Linked DNA regions of Homo sapiens: regions 1 and 3 are each linked to region 2. Evidence: promoter capture Hi-C in 16 types of primary human blood cells and fetal thymus (Javierre and others, 2016). All regions are on one chromosome and are shown on one strand. The core of a region is centred on a gene start or on the middle of the fragment in contact, and the rest is flanking DNA. Distances in the headings are between cores, read along the strand shown.

The links. Contacts are between HindIII fragments. The CHiCAGO score rates a contact against its expected background, and 5 or more counts as called.
Region 1: a fragment that was not itself captured here is called in contact with the fragment with the promoter of SYF2 in region 2 in 1 of 17 cell types (neutrophils); the score reaches 5.9 in neutrophils.
Region 3: a fragment that was not itself captured here is called in contact with the fragment with the promoter of SYF2 in region 2 in 1 of 17 cell types (M2 macrophages); the score reaches 6.2 in M2 macrophages.

Annotation. Positions count from the first base shown.
Region 1 is chr1:24,647,540-24,652,625 of GRCh38, forward strand. It overlaps SRRM1 (serine and arginine repetitive matrix 1), which reads left to right. Exons shown (of 17, transcript NM_005839.4): 4 at 1,320-1,490; 5 at 2,432-2,547; 6 at 3,870-4,073; 7 at 4,895-5,086. Among named protein-coding and RNA genes, the nearest start is that of SRRM1, 6.8 kb to the left of the region's middle. The HindIII fragment of the contact is 2,694 bases long and covers 2,184-4,877 here.
Region 2 is chr1:25,229,157-25,233,970 of GRCh38, forward strand. It overlaps SYF2 (SYF2 pre-mRNA splicing factor), which reads right to left and starts at 3,346. Exons shown (of 7, transcript NM_015484.5): 1 at 3,288-3,346; 2 at 2,948-3,055. The coding sequence starts at 3,311. It overlaps LOC124903881 (a long non-coding RNA gene), which reads left to right and starts at 3,433. Exons shown (of 2, transcript XR_007065555.1): 1 at 3,433-3,523. RefSeq lists enhancers at 3,164-3,313, 3,456-4,369, 3,554-3,803. The HindIII fragment of the contact is 32,676 bases long and covers 1-4,814 here.
Region 3 is chr1:24,668,360-24,673,317 of GRCh38, forward strand. SRRM1 (serine and arginine repetitive matrix 1) reads left to right here. Exons shown (of 17, transcript NM_005839.4): 14 at 764-1,228; 15 at 1,761-1,956; 16 at 3,027-3,236; 17 at 3,823-4,922. The coding sequence ends at 3,927. Among named protein-coding and RNA genes, the nearest start is that of SRRM1, 28 kb to the left of the region's middle. The HindIII fragment of the contact is 3,084 bases long and covers 1,286-4,369 here.

The sequences.
Region 1 (5,086 bases), core at 2,281-4,780, 580 kb before region 2:
AAGACAGTTTCTGTTTTGCCACAGCAACCCAAAGGACAGTTAAGATATGTACCATATGACCTTTTTGCATATATACCAATGTGAATTTACTTTTACATTAATCATTTCCCCCAAAGAGTTCACCCTATGTTTTGACAGAACAGTTGGCATTTCAACTGATAAGGTATTTCTAGTTTTAAAATAATTTGGTGTTTGTATTTTGTTTTGAATATTTTTAAAGACTAATTTTAAGAATGCACTTTCTATAAAGTATATGCATCTTAGAAAACCAGGAACAGGGGAGAAAGTTTTTTAAATGATGATTGAAGATAGATTTTATTGGAGAAATGCTTTACTGATGTGTATTTTAGTGCATTTTAAAAACCTAAGTATCTGGTAGTATTCCCCTTGTAGTGAGCATGAGATTAAAGTTTAGAACTTTTTAAGACAATTCTTTTTTTGTGGTTGTGTACTCATTATTGCTTGTTCGTCTTTTGCAATTTAGATAAATGATATAACATTAAACTCAAGGTGGTTGAGTTGCAGTAGGGAGTCGGAAGCAAGCCAAGGGAACATCTTTCTCTACAGGGGACTTGGCGATTCCAAACCCCCAAGGTTCCAAGAAGAAACTGAAGACACCTGGAATCTGTACTTGCTTTGTGCTATTGAGCTGTGCTTGTTATACAGACCTTGTTGCTTGACCAACGGATTTAGCATTTAAAAACCCAATTATTTTTGAGAAATCTTGACCTCTTAGCACTTTGTGGACAGTTGAGAATTTGAGGCATTGTTATAATAGATTTTCCTTATATAAAACTCAGGCCTTTAGCTTAGCCCTCAGAAGTTACAGACTGCATGCATAACTTGTTAGTTTTCATAACTGGACAATAGATATTTTATGCAAAGCTATCTGTAGTGTTAGGGAGCAGTTTATGTACTTTTTCCGTTTCTCATTGGGGGAAAATTTCCAGGCAAGCAAATACTTTTCTTGTTAGTAAATACTAGAATTTGTGGATGTTTCATGATGGTTTTTAAAGTTAATAAATGTAAGGCCCACTAACAGCCACAGAGTCTAAAAATACTTACGAAATCCACAAAGGATTAACAGGCTGCTCTGATGCTTTTGGTAGAGTGAGAGAGAATTTGGTAATCTGTTAGAGATTATATTGCTGAGAAGCTACTAGGGAAGACTATTTGTAAAATAGTAAGGACTATATATATGTCTAAGCCCCTATGGTAGACTTAAAAAATACTAATTTAAATGAGTTTTAGGTTGGTTGATTTGTTGGTTGGTTGGTTTTGAAGTAACCTGTTTTTCTTCCTGTCGTGTCTTTTTGCAGAATCCAGACTCCAAAATGATGCAAATCAACCTGACTGGATTTTTGAATGGAAAAAATGCTCGAGAATTTATGGGAGAACTGTGGCCCCTGCTGCTAAGTGCACAAGAAAACATCGCGGGAATCCCTTCTGCTTTCCTAGAACTGAAGAAAGAAGAAATAAAACAAAGACAGGTAATAACCTTTTCTTTTCTGTAATGTCGATTTGAGAGTATTGGCCAGGCTGCCGAGACACCTTAGGTAGTATATGACTCAGCTAGGATCTTCATGTAGTTTTGCTTTGCTGTACTGTATTTAAACATTCAGTTTTGGTTCACTGCTCCTCCCTCCAACCAAACATTGAGTTTAGAATGTCATTTTCCCAGTCTAGTGATTTGCTAGATTTTTACAAATTCTTAATATGTGAGTGCATGTAGCTTAAAAGAAATTTGAATTTAACACTGAAAGGTAAGCATAAGGATTTTTGGTTTGTTGTTTTTTTGAGACACAGTTTCAGTCTGTCACCCAGGCTAGAGTGCAGTGGTGTGGTCTCTGCTCACTGCAGCTTTCACCTCCTGAGTTCAAGCGATTCTCATGCCTCAGTCTCCTGAGTAGCTGGGATTACAGGCGCACACCACCACATCCAACTCATTTTTGTATTTTTAGTACAGACGGGATTTTGCCATGTTGGCCAGACTTGTCTCGAACTCCTGACCTCAAGTGATCTGCCCGCCCTTGGCGGGATTATAGACGTGAGCCACCGTGCCCAGCCAGCATAAACTCTTAATATGGGCAATACAGATGAACTCCCAGAAAGAATAAGGTCAATGTGAAAGTGATTTTCTTTTTTATTTTATTTTTTATTTTTATTTTTATTTTTTTGAAGTAAGCTTGAAAACATCTCTTTAGTTCAGGTCTTAGAGATTAACTTTCAGTGAATATTTATTTGTAAATGAGTGGCGATAATACCAGTCTTAATGCGTATCTGTAGTGTAGGTGAAGAAAGAACAGGTCTGGTTCAAAAGAAGAGGCCGATGAAATGATAATAGCATTGGTGTTTAACACACGTAGAAAGTAGTCTTCAGTTTGTTCTCAAATGTTCAACTATGTGTATTTTGAAAACCTGGTCTTTGCAGATTGAACAAGAAAAACTGGCATCTATGAAAAAGCAAGATGAAGACAAAGATAAAAGAGATAAGGAAGAAAAAGAAAGCAGCAGAGAAAAAAGGGAGCGGTCTCGTAGCCCAAGAAGGTATCATACAATAGATGCATAACTGATGTTTTACAGGTACTTTAGGTCTTAAGAAACTTCCTTAGTTAAAAAGGAATCTAACAGCGCTATTCAAGGAATTTGTTCCATCATGCAGTTTTCATGGTGACCTGTGCCTTGCCTCTGGACTAAAGAAATCTGTCATATTTTGTTTGAGACAGATAATTTAGCCATGAGTGTCTCGCAGATGTTCATAAATTATCCAACTCTAAATTCCTAAATCAAAACTTTAAACTTTTTCTTCCATATTGCTTTAGTTCATAACAGTTAATTTGGGTTTTTAAAAATGTACTCTGACTCACTTTTTCTTTCCATTTCCTTTCTTCTAAAAAGAAATCTGTACTCGAAATCTGTACTCATTAGCCGTTCATGTAATACTTACCTAATTCCCTGTTCTGCTTTTCTTAGATGGTTGTACTGAACCCAAACTTCAGATCATTTATTTGTTTTCTTCTTCCAGTGAGACTATTGTTAGGTTCACATTTTTAAATCCACGGCTCAGCTTCTATATTTGTGGTGAAAGGTGAGAACTCCATTAGGCTTTTTATTTTTAGGGTTCTGCTTATTTCTTTCATAAATGTCTGCTGGAATTAGTAAAGAGAAGAGGTAATTTCTTTGTCCCTTTCATTTATATATTTGATACTAAAATCTCCTTATGGAAGTAATATTTATAGAGCTAAGCACAAATTGTCATGGTGGTAACTACTTGACTATTGATGAAGTATGTCTGCCATTTTCCTTCTGTGTGAATAAGAGAAAAACCCTTCGAGTTAGGCAGGCTACTGTTAAGAAAGAGGGCTTCTCCTCTCGCAAAAAAGCTATCTTCTGGATGTTTGATGTATATTTCTCTTTTCTGAAGAACATGTTGCTTTAATGGTATTAGTCATTTTTCTGGCATACTGAGGCTCTTCCTGATGAACTCCATTGTAATCTGTCCGCATCTAAATGTTTTATGTTTGGGAGTTTGATTTGTTGTCAAGGATTATCATTGTTTGCTTTAAAGCATCCTCTTTGCCTCTGAAAAGTTGGTCTTTTGATCTCTGGGAATGATTAAGAACCTAAGTCTAGAGTCCCAAGTTAGTGCTTTTCTCCCTTATAACTGATATACTCGAGAATGTTATCTTTCATTTGCTTGTCTTTCTCTTCCCTGTCAAGTAGATTAGGTTAGCATGTCTTATTTCCATAGGGAAACATCTCAGATATAAACAGTAGTGTAACTAAAGATTAATCCTCACTTCTCCCTTTGACTCCTCTCTTCCAATCCATGTTATTTAAAAACCTGAAAAAAATTACTTTCATCCTAGACGCAAATCCAGATCTCCTTCCCCTAGAAGACGATCTTCCCCTGTCAGGAGAGAGAGAAAGCGCAGTCATTCTCGATCTCCCCGTCACAGAACCAAGAGCCGGAGTCCTTCCCCTGCTCCAGAAAAGAAGGAAAAAACTCCAGAGCTCCCAGAACCTTCAGTGAAAGTAAAAGAACCTTCAGTACAAGAGGCTACTTCTACTAGGCAAGTATATAAAAATTCATTTATAAATAATCACAATTTTAGATTAATAGTGACTGCAAATATGACATCTGAGTTAAAATAAAACTACTTATTTTCCTTTTAGATTTTTTAAATTATAAAATTAGTTTGTTGAAAAGAAATTGTTTAGGAGAGTATATTAGAAGAAAATGCCCCAGAGGGTGACCATTACTATCTTTTGGTTGTATTGTTTCAGGTATTTTATATATTGTAACTTGCTTTTTTTCCTCAACGTATTGTGGACAACTTCGCACTTTTAAGAAATGTATGTGGTTGCCAGATGCGGGGGTGCATGCCTGTAATCTCGGCACTTGGGGAGGCTGAGGTGGGTGGATCGCTTGAGCTCACAAGTTAGAGAGCAGCCTGGGGCAACATGGTGAAACTCCATCTGTACTAAAAATATATATATATATATATATATATATATATATATGTACACACACACACACAAATTAGCCGGGCATGGTTGGCACATGCCTATAGTCCCAGCTACTCAGGAGGATCACTTGAGCCTGGGAGGTTGAAGCTGCAGTGAGCCAAAATCATGCCAGTACACTCCAGCCTGAGTGACAAGAGTGAGACCCTGTCTCAGAAGAAGAAAAGAAAATGTACATGGTTGGAATTATTAGTTGCTCTCTGGGTTTCAGTGATAGGTACATACATACTTATGTGTCTTTTGGAGATAGAGACAAGTCTGTGAATTTTGAAAAGTTTTAGAAATACTTTATTACATCATTGTGTAATGATTTAGAAGGCTGAGTACAAGAAGGCAAAAAAAAAAAAAAAAGCTTTTGTTTCCACAGTGACATTCTGAAAGTTCCCAAACCTGAACCTATACCAGAGCCTAAAGAACCTTCTCCGGAAAAAAATTCCAAAAAAGAAAAGGAGAAGGAGAAGACCCGACCACGATCTCGGTCACGCTCCAAATCAAGATCCCGGACGCGGTCCCGCTCTCCTTCTCACACTCGACCTAGACGGCGCCATAGATCCCGATC
Region 2 (4,814 bases), core at 2,096-4,595:
AACATGAAAATAAATCCAGATACACCTTGCCTTCTTTGAGGAGGGTCAGGCAGGACATATTAATAAGCTGACCCCATTTTATCCTAAAAGCAATAGAGAGCCATCACAGGATTTTAAGCCAGGGAATAGCCTAATAGGGTCTACGTTTTTATGCAGTCAAGAAAAATGTGTTGAGTTGCACTGGTTTGCTGTTCCAGAGCCCTGGAGGTTAAAATCAGCTTTGCCTCTATTGAGTTGTGTGGTCCCTTTTTATTGGATCAGAACAAGGTTTTGCAGTATTGGAGACCATACTATAGTGGCACTTAAGTAGACTTTATTTGGCATTACTATTAAATTGGCCAGGTGCAGTGGATCACGCTTGTAATCCTAGCACTTTGGGAGGCTGAGGCAGGTGGATCACCTGAGGTCAGAAGTTCAAGACCAGGCTGGCCAACATGGTGAAACCCCGTCTCTACTAAAAATACAAAAATTAGCGAGGCATGGTGGTGCACACCTGTAATCCTAGCTACTCGGGAGGCTGAGGCAGGAGATTCACTTGAACCCAGGAGGCAGAGGTTGCAGTCAGCTGAGATTGCACTACTGCACTACAGCCTGGGTGACAGAGCGAGACTCCATCTCAAAAAAAAAAAAAAAAATTACGTCACATGATGTGAAAGACACTCTTTCTTTTTTTTTTTTGAGACAGAGTCTCACTCTGTCACCCAAGCTGGAGTACAGTGGAGCCATCTCAGCTCATTTCAACTTTCGCCTCTGGGGTTCAAACAATTCTCATGCCTCAGCCTCCCGAGTAGCTGGGGTTACAAGCGTGTGCCACAATGCCTGGCTTATTTTTTTGTATTTTTGGTAGAAACGTGGTTTTGCAGTTTGGCCAGGCTGGTCTCAAACTCCTGGCCTCAAGTGATCTGCCCGCCTGGACCTCCCAAAGTGCTGGGATTACAGGCATGTGCCACCACACCAGGCCTCAATTATCTTTTAATCCTAATTCAAGAAAAAAGCCTCAATTTGGGTTAGAGGATTTAAAACCTATCTTAATGCCTCTAATGCTTTCCAAGTTCCCCTCCTTTTAAATATTTTCACAGTTTGCATTGACAAATGAAAAATGAAAGGAATTTTCCATTTGAAGTATCATTGAAGAGTCTTTTTTTTTTTTTGGAGCTGGGGTAGCAGGGAGAAGAGTCTATTTTTAAATAAACTTAATTGCATAAAGCAAAATGAGTGTATCGTCTTAAGGAAAACTTGAGTTAGACATTCCTTAGGTCATAAGCTGGTGGCAGTTTGTCCAGGAAGCCCCGCCTCCTAATTTCCAGACATGTGTTCCTTACACAATCACTCTAAATATTTAAGCATGTCTTTTTAATTGTTTATTAGATTAACTTTCCCTCGGCAAAGAGAGATACTCCTCCCAACTACCATCCCTAGTATATTCTTGGCCCTGGAAAAGCCCTGCAATTAAAGACGCCAAGAACATACCTACGGTCAACAAAGTTGAGTCTGTTGCACAGAAGAGAGCAAACCACGGGGAACCGTGGGCATTTGAGTGACAGGGTGTTAGGAAGGGCTTGTTCCAGGATTTGGGTTTGTATCAGGTGACTGAGGGGAGGGTTAAGGATGTGGATTGGGTACTGTCAGAAAGCAGGGGCTTTCTACAATTAGGTATCTTAGATTTTTTTTTTTTTTTTTTTTGAGATGGAGTCTCGCTCTGTCGCCCAGGCTGGAGTGCAGTGGTGTGATCTCGACTCACTGTAAGCTCCGACTCTCGGGCTCATGCCATTCTCCTGCCTCAGCCTCCCGTGTAGCCCGCCAGCACGCCCGGCTAATTTTTTCTATTTTTAGTAGAGACGGGGTTTCACCGTGTTAGCCAGGATGGTCTTGATCTCCTGACCTTGTGATCCGCCCTCCTCGGCCTCCCAAAGTGCTGGGATTACAGGCGTGAGCCACCGCACCCGGCCCAGTATCTTACATTTTTATATAGGAGGCAGAAGTAACGGAGTGAGACTAATGCTGTATTTGTTAATAACAGTCACTGGTGTTAGTCAGAAGAAAGAAATATGTGGTCATTCTTGTAATTTGAAAAGTCTTCTTTGTTTTGTCTCACTACAACAGTCAGAGTGATTTTGGGATTTTGTGAAACCATGGCCTAGCTGTCAGGTCACTCCATGGTGAAACAGGGGCTGCTTTTCTCTTTCTCTGCTCCAACTGCAGCAAGCTATTTGCTGGACTCTTATCCCTAATACAAATTCTCTTTCTTTGAATTTGTTCCCTTTGCTTGGATATCTCTTTCTCTAACTCCTTTAGTTGTCTGGCTTTCAAACAGTAGTTTAGGTGTCACCTACTACATGAGGCACCCCCTGGAGACCCACAAACTGCATTCCTCTCTCCTCCTCTGCACCTCCAGGGCACTTAAACATCAGATTCCCTATCAACTGGCTGAACTACCACACTGTAGACTTTCAAAAGTTTGCCATTTTTTTTATTTTCTTTTTATTCTTTTCCCCCAGAAGTCCCAAAAACAGATGATTATTTTCTTTTCACTCAAACAGATTCTGACAGAAGATTATTATTTTTTAAAGTGAACCAGGTCTCTTACTGACACTAGACAAGTTTCTTCCTGTCTCTAGCTCTACATATTTCCCTAGGTAAAATGAAGAATTTGTTGGAATCACGGAGCAGGGAGGTTGTTAGTAATGGAGACTCCCAAACCTAACCCAGATACATTAAATTGGATGTGGGTGGGAGAGGGGCTGGAGTGAACAGTTATATTTTCAAATGTTCTCAGAATGATCCCAATGTGCTGCCAGGGTTGAGTACCACCGAACAGAGCTTTCCTCTCAGATGATCCTGCTCTGTTGGTCTGTCAGACGCAGTGGTGTGGCTTCCTCGTCCCCTCTACAAAAGCGCACAGGCTTGGCCAGATGACGGATCTAAGCCGGCCTCCAAGACTACTCACCCGCATCAGGTGCAGCTCCCGGAATTTGCGCAGTCTCTGTTCGCGCTTCTGAGCGGCCAGCTCCGCCGCCGCAGCGAGGGACCCCTCCTCCGCGCTGTCCACCAGCACCTGCGACAAGGAGAACTGGCTTCAGGCAGAGCCGGCTCAGCTTCTCCCAGGACTGCCCAGGCCGAGTCCCCGCCGGTCCCCACAGGCTGGGCCTAGGGCCTCCACCGCCGACTTGACCCCACAGTGTCTGAGCCTCCCTGAAGCGAAACTAGACTTCGCCTCCACCTCTCTCCAGGCCGCTCCCCGGAACCCTCACCAACAAAACCCCCGGTGTACGGTGGGTGGAACTCACCTCGGATGCAGCTATAGCCGCCATCACAACCTTTCTCTCTTCCCACTTCCGGCAACAAGATAGAGCACTTCCGTCAACCTTCAGACAAACGGGCCGATACGTACGAATGGGCTACCATAAGCCCCGCCCCTTCCGGGAGGTCTCCGGAAGTTGGGACCCTTTTAGCTATGAAATATTTTGGATTGCGTAGGGTCTTGCGCAGCCGCGAAAAGTAGCGTGGGCCAGGACAGCGGGAGGTAAGTCGCCAAGAAAAGGGTTGGGAAGAGCTCAGAATCGGACGGCTAGGAAGAAATGACCAAAAGGAGCCTGATAGCCCCCTATTCTGCACGCTGTTCCTGGAAACCGCCTTTGCAAAGACAGTGAGAGAAATCTAACATGGCTCACTCCATCTTGCTTCTAGCCTCGCAGGCCGGCTGTCTTCGCTCATTCCTGGGCATAAACCAAGCTAACCATGGGAGAATTTATAGTTTAACTTTTAAGCAAGGATGATCATAGTCCCTTCCTTAAACAGGGCCCCTCCTTGTTTGGGGGCTGAAACTGCCTTTATAAAACTAATGAAAGACCGGGAGGTTAGGATTATGAGGGGAGAATTCTGCTAAAATGTAGTAAACGATAACCAGCCATTGTTTCGGAGGACATCGGATGTGTAACTTCCCCAATTATTCCTGTAGATAACGTTATCGTAGCACCTAAGATTGGTCTTTTGAGGCATTTTTCAGACTTTCGCATTCTGGCAACTAACTGACCCCACCCAGACTCGTGACCCATGACCCAACCGCTTCTTCTGTCCCACTCCTCCCCCAAGAGGCGGACTCAGCTGTTGAGGAGTGTAGTCCACACCCCTGTGATTGCATCTCCAACCAATCAGCAGCATCCATTCCCTAGTGCCCTGCCCACACCAAACTATGAAATACCCTAACCTCTGAGCTGACCCTTCAGGAAAACTTACTTGAGTGGTAACCCTTCTTCCCTGAGGCCAGCCTCAGGTTAATACAACTGTATACTGCAGTAGCACTTTTCAGTGAATTGGTTTTGTCTGCAGTAAGCAGGAAAAACCTGCAGTGCCATTCATTCCCATGAGTGGAAAGTTCTTTCCATTTAGAGCTTAAGGTGTTGTCACTTTCTCCAAGAAGCAGGTCTTGCCCTTGGCCTGGTGTGGTGGTTCATGGCTGCAATCCCAGCACATTGCGGGGCGGAGGCGGGAGGATTGCTTGAGCCCAGGAGTTCAAGACCAGCCTGGACAACAAAGTAAGAATCAGTCTCTAAATTAAAAAATAAAAGTAATTTTTTTTTGTTTTTTTGTTTTGAGACAGAGTCTTGCACTATCACCCAGGCTGGAGTGCAGTGGCACCGATCTCGGCTTACTGCAACGTCCGGCTCCCGGGTTCAGACGATTCTCCTGCCTCAGCTTCCCGAGTAGCTGGGATTACGGGTGCCTGCCACCATGCCCAGCTAATTTTTGTATTTTTAGTAGAGATAGGGTTTCACCATGTTGGCCAGGCTGGTCTCGAACTCCTGACCTCATGA
Region 3 (4,958 bases), core at 1,578-4,077, 560 kb before region 2:
TAGTTGGTATTGTTTGCATTTTTCAGGTGAGGAAATGGGAGTTGAGAATTACTAAGTAATTACCCAGATACAGTGATGAAATTGTGCCCTACCACATTGCCAAAATATATGGCCTATTGTAAAGCTAACTCTGGGCAGGAATTTACTTTGATCTAAAAGTCTGCAATATCCAAGAGGAAATTAGGCAGTTTGGCCTGAAAAGTGGCCTTTTGAGACAGAAAATGGAACAGTCTCTTTGAGGGGAGGTAGAAGTGTCTTTAAGGCTTGTGCAGTGAACTCTTAATTATTCATACAGTGTCCAAATGCTCATTCAGAGAGGATACCACATAGGAGACCTCTTTAAAGTGCAGACTTCCTAAGGTGACCATAATAGAGTTTTGCTAATACAGTTACTTGGTTATTATATAATAACTGATGTTCAGTTAATACAGTGCAAGATTCTGTTTTCAAAAAACGTTAATTTTGTATAGATGTTAAAAGATTGACAAATTCACATCTTCTGAAAATTGCAAATTTTTGTTAATCAAAATGTCTTTTTTTCTTTTTTGTACTTAGTCCTGCAGACAGTGTCCTGTGTTGCAGTCAGCTGAGATAAACAAGTTTTATTGATATTTAAGTGAGAATATAAAGATAGCATGTTCACTTATAAATATATTCCCTTTGCCTAGTGCTAACTACAGTATAGCCAAACCTACTGATTACTTTTCATCCTGTTTCTGTATTTTGTTGAGCCTTTCAGCTTAATTATGTATCTTTTTCCTAGGACTCCTTCTCCTCCCCCACGTCGGCGCTCACCTTCTCCTAGAAGATACTCTCCTCCAATACAGAGGAGATACTCTCCTTCTCCACCTCCAAAGAGAAGAACGGCTTCACCTCCTCCCCCTCCTAAACGAAGAGCATCACCATCTCCACCACCAAAGCGGCGGGTCTCCCATTCTCCACCTCCCAAACAAAGAAGCTCCCCAGTCACCAAGAGACGTTCACCTTCATTATCATCCAAGCATAGGAAAGGGTCTTCCCCAAGCCGCTCTACCCGGGAGGCCCGATCACCACAACCAAACAAACGGCATTCGCCCTCACCACGGCCTCGAGCTCCTCAGACCTCCTCAAGTCCTCCACCCGTTCGAAGAGGAGCGTCGTCATCACCCCAAAGAAGGCAGTCCCCGTCTCCAAGTACTAGGCCCATTAGGAGAGTCTCCAGGACTCCGGAACCTAAAAAGATAAAAAAGTAAAAATATTTTATGCTTTTCCATTAGGAATACTTACATAGCTGTTTATATTTGGAAGCTTCCCCCCACCCCCATATAAAAGGAATAAGTTATGAATATGAGCTTTTAAGTCAAACTTGAGGTACTATTTACAGATCTTATTCCATTTTTTGGGATAGTTTCTGTGGTATAAGTTAAATGCCACAGGCTTTTACTTGGTTCTTAGCAGTTATTAATTTGTTTTTGAGGGGTATGCTTCCAAAACTAAACTTGAGTAAGACATTGAACATTTCTTGTGTGTGATGTAAGGAACTGACATTACTAATCTTACATAAGAAGCATCATTAACAGAATAGATAGAGGATTATGGGGCTTTAGCCACCCTCTGGGAAACATAGGTAATGTAAATTGGATATATGTTAGTTGAATCAACCAGCAATCTAAGTGGTATATTTGAAATTCATAACCTGGTTGTACAGTGTAGTTGGTGGTTTTCTCATGTGAAGAGAGATGGCTGTTCTCAATGCTGAATGTTTTTTCCTTTTTGTCTAGGGCTGCTTCCCCAAGCCCACAGTCTGTAAGAAGGGTCTCATCCTCCCGATCTGTCTCCGGGTCTCCTGAGCCAGCAGCTAAAAAGCCCCCAGCACCTCCATCCCCCGTCCAGTCTCAGTCACCGTCTACAAACTGGTCACCAGCTGTACCGGTCAAAAAGGCCAAAAGCCCAACACCGAGCCCATCACCGCCAAGAGTATGTGTCTGCCTTATTTTGGACACCCTTTTATAAATATGTATATGGTCACTTTGAAGCAGAGAAAATGTCATTGGGGCATTAAAATATTGGTGTTTAAACTTTTTTTCCCATTTGTGAGTTATACATCTGATCTTGGGCAGGTTTCTGTATTGCATAAAATCAGTGGTTAGGTGTCCATCTGTTTTTTGTTTGTTTTTGAGACAGGGTCTCATGCTGTCACCCACGCTGAGTGCAGTGGGATGATCATAGCTCACAGCAGCCTTCCTGGACGCAGGTGATCCCTTCGCCTCAGCCTCCCAAGTAGCTGGGATTATAGGCACATGCTGCTACACCTGGCTGGTTTTTTGTTTTTAACTTTTTGTAGAGACAGGGTCTTGCTGTGTTGACCAGGCTGATCTTGAACTCCTAGCCTCCAGTGATCCTCCTGCTGTGGCCTCAGATGTCCATATTTAATTGGGTTGACTGAATAGTTGTGCAAGCTAACTTGTGAGGAATTTTAAGTAATTGCTTAGAAGTGTGAAATTGAAATATTATGGATTAAATTATAGGAGCCTGCTTTTTGCATAAATTTGGTATGTGTGTCATGAGGAAGAACCAGTCATCCCCACTCTAAAGATAGGAGAGCTCAGATGGTAGCTAGAGACATGGCATTCATACAGGCATGTGTTTAGACTAATGGCTGGTACCATTTATTAAAAGTCTGCTACATGTTAGGCAAGTATTATGGGTGATTTACAGATATTCTCATTTAATTTTCACAAGAGCTTTATCAGGTAGGGATTATTACACTTATTTTAGGTAAAAAGGTCTCAGAAAGAGTTCAACAATTTGTCTAAGGTCAAATAGTTCAGGAGCTGGAATTGAGCTCATCCTGGAGATAGCCCCTGACTTTTGAATACTTTTCTTGGTGATAATTGGCCTTGGGCCTTCCCCACTCACACCCTCCAAAGCCTTTCGGAAATCTTGAGATTTGTCCATTGGGGATTTGAGGAAATAAAATGTTCAGTTGGACAGAATATTAATCAGATTGATTATAAATGCTGGGTGTTGTTTTTTTTTCTTCCTAGAATTCAGATCAGGAAGGAGGTGGAAAGAAAAAGAAGAAAAAGAAGGACAAGAAACACAAAAAGGATAAGAAGCACAAGAAGCACAAAAAACACAAGAAGGAAAAGGCTGTGGCTGCAGCTGCTGCAGCTGCTGTGACCCCTGCAGCCATTGCAGCTGCCACAACCACATTAGCACAGGAAGAGCCAGTGGCAGCGCCAGAGCCGAAGAAGGTATTTATGAACTCTGTATATGGCTGTCTTGCAGTTTACGTACAGATAGCAAAGTCATTTTGTTTTGAGAAGTAGCAAAATTGTTTTTTCTACTAATTAGCCAGTTACTCTGAGATAAAAGTCACGTACCATACAGTTCACCCATTTAAAGTTTGTGGTTCCCTGGGTTTTAGTATATCAGTTGTGCAGCGATCCCCACACTTTTTTTTTTTATAAAGGTGACTTATTTATTTAAAATATTAACTATCCACAGTGGCCATTATATTTGCATACAGTTCAGTACTCAAAAGATTTGTGAGGTTGGTTTTTTTTTTTGTTTGTTTTTTAATTTTATTATTATTATACTTTAAGTTTTAGGGTACATGTGCACAATGTGCAGGTTTGTTACATATGTATACATGTGCCATGTTGGTGTGCTGCACCCATTAACTCGTCGTTTAGCATTAGGTATATCCCTCCCTGCTCCCCCTACCCCACAACAGTCCCCGGTGTGTGATGTTCCCCTCCCACACTTTGATTCTGCTCTTTACTCGGCATTTCCCACCAGGGTCTCAAGACTTAACCGTGTAAATTCTGTTTTTTTTAGGAGACTGAAAGTGAAGCTGAAGATAACCTTGATGATTTAGAAAAGCACCTGCGTGAAAAGGCCCTGAGATCAATGAGGAAGGCCCAAGTGTCCCCACAGTCTTAGGGGGAAATGTTTGTTATGATGTAAATTTTATTTGGTTTGTACGCAGTTCAATTTCAAAATTGCTAAAATGTGTTTGAGCTTTAGACTATAACATTTGTTGTAATAATTGCTAGGTTGAAGTTCAACATGTAAAAAAAGGGGGCATGGATTTACATTGCAAAAGGTGTCCACAGTGTATTAGTGACATTCTTTCATTGACAGCTGACATAATTCATTGAGTGAAATATTTTAAGCCAAAAAAAAATTCCCTTTTTAAAAAAGGGGGTTTAAATACTGTTGGCATTTTTATGGTTCCTTTAAATGCCCTAGCTATTCCCAGAGGGGTTTTTTTGTTTGTTTTTTTGGTTTTGATTTTCTTTTTGTTTTTCTTTCTTCTTCTTATTTTTTTCATTTGAGTCTTAGCTCCCATTTAAGTTATGCTTCTGACCTTGTATGGTCTGTAAGCTTGCCCAGAAATAAGACCACTGTTTTGAACTACCACAAAAGTATAAATGAATATTTTAATGCCACAATCTTTCCTGTTGCCTGTGGAGTCTCTGCTGAAATGAATCAGGATTCGAGCTCTAGGATGAGACAGAAAATGAAAGCATGTTGTTTGCCAGGACACTGTGGGTTTATATTGATGTGTAACAAGTTGATTTGGAACACTGGACTCTCATTCTGTTATTCTGGTTTTGTTTTTTTTGTTTTGTTTTTTTTCTTTTGTAAAGGCAATGAGCTAGTCCCAGAAAGGATCCTTCAGTTACATACAATTTGTTTAATGAAATGTCATGGCTCTGTTCATATTTTTGTCTTGTTCTTCCAATTGGTATATACAACTTTCAGAGCCTCTTGTATTTGGAAGGCTGGAAGGGCCCAGACTTTGGAATAGTGTCTTGGTTTCACTGTTTTTGTTTTGATTTTTTTTTTGTTTTGATTTTTTTTAAACTAAAGCTATATAAAGCTTGTGGATTAAACAGAATAAATTTCTAAATTTAAAAATTTTGCCACTCTTACTTAGTAGTGCTTATGTAAACCTTTTGGTGTGTTGG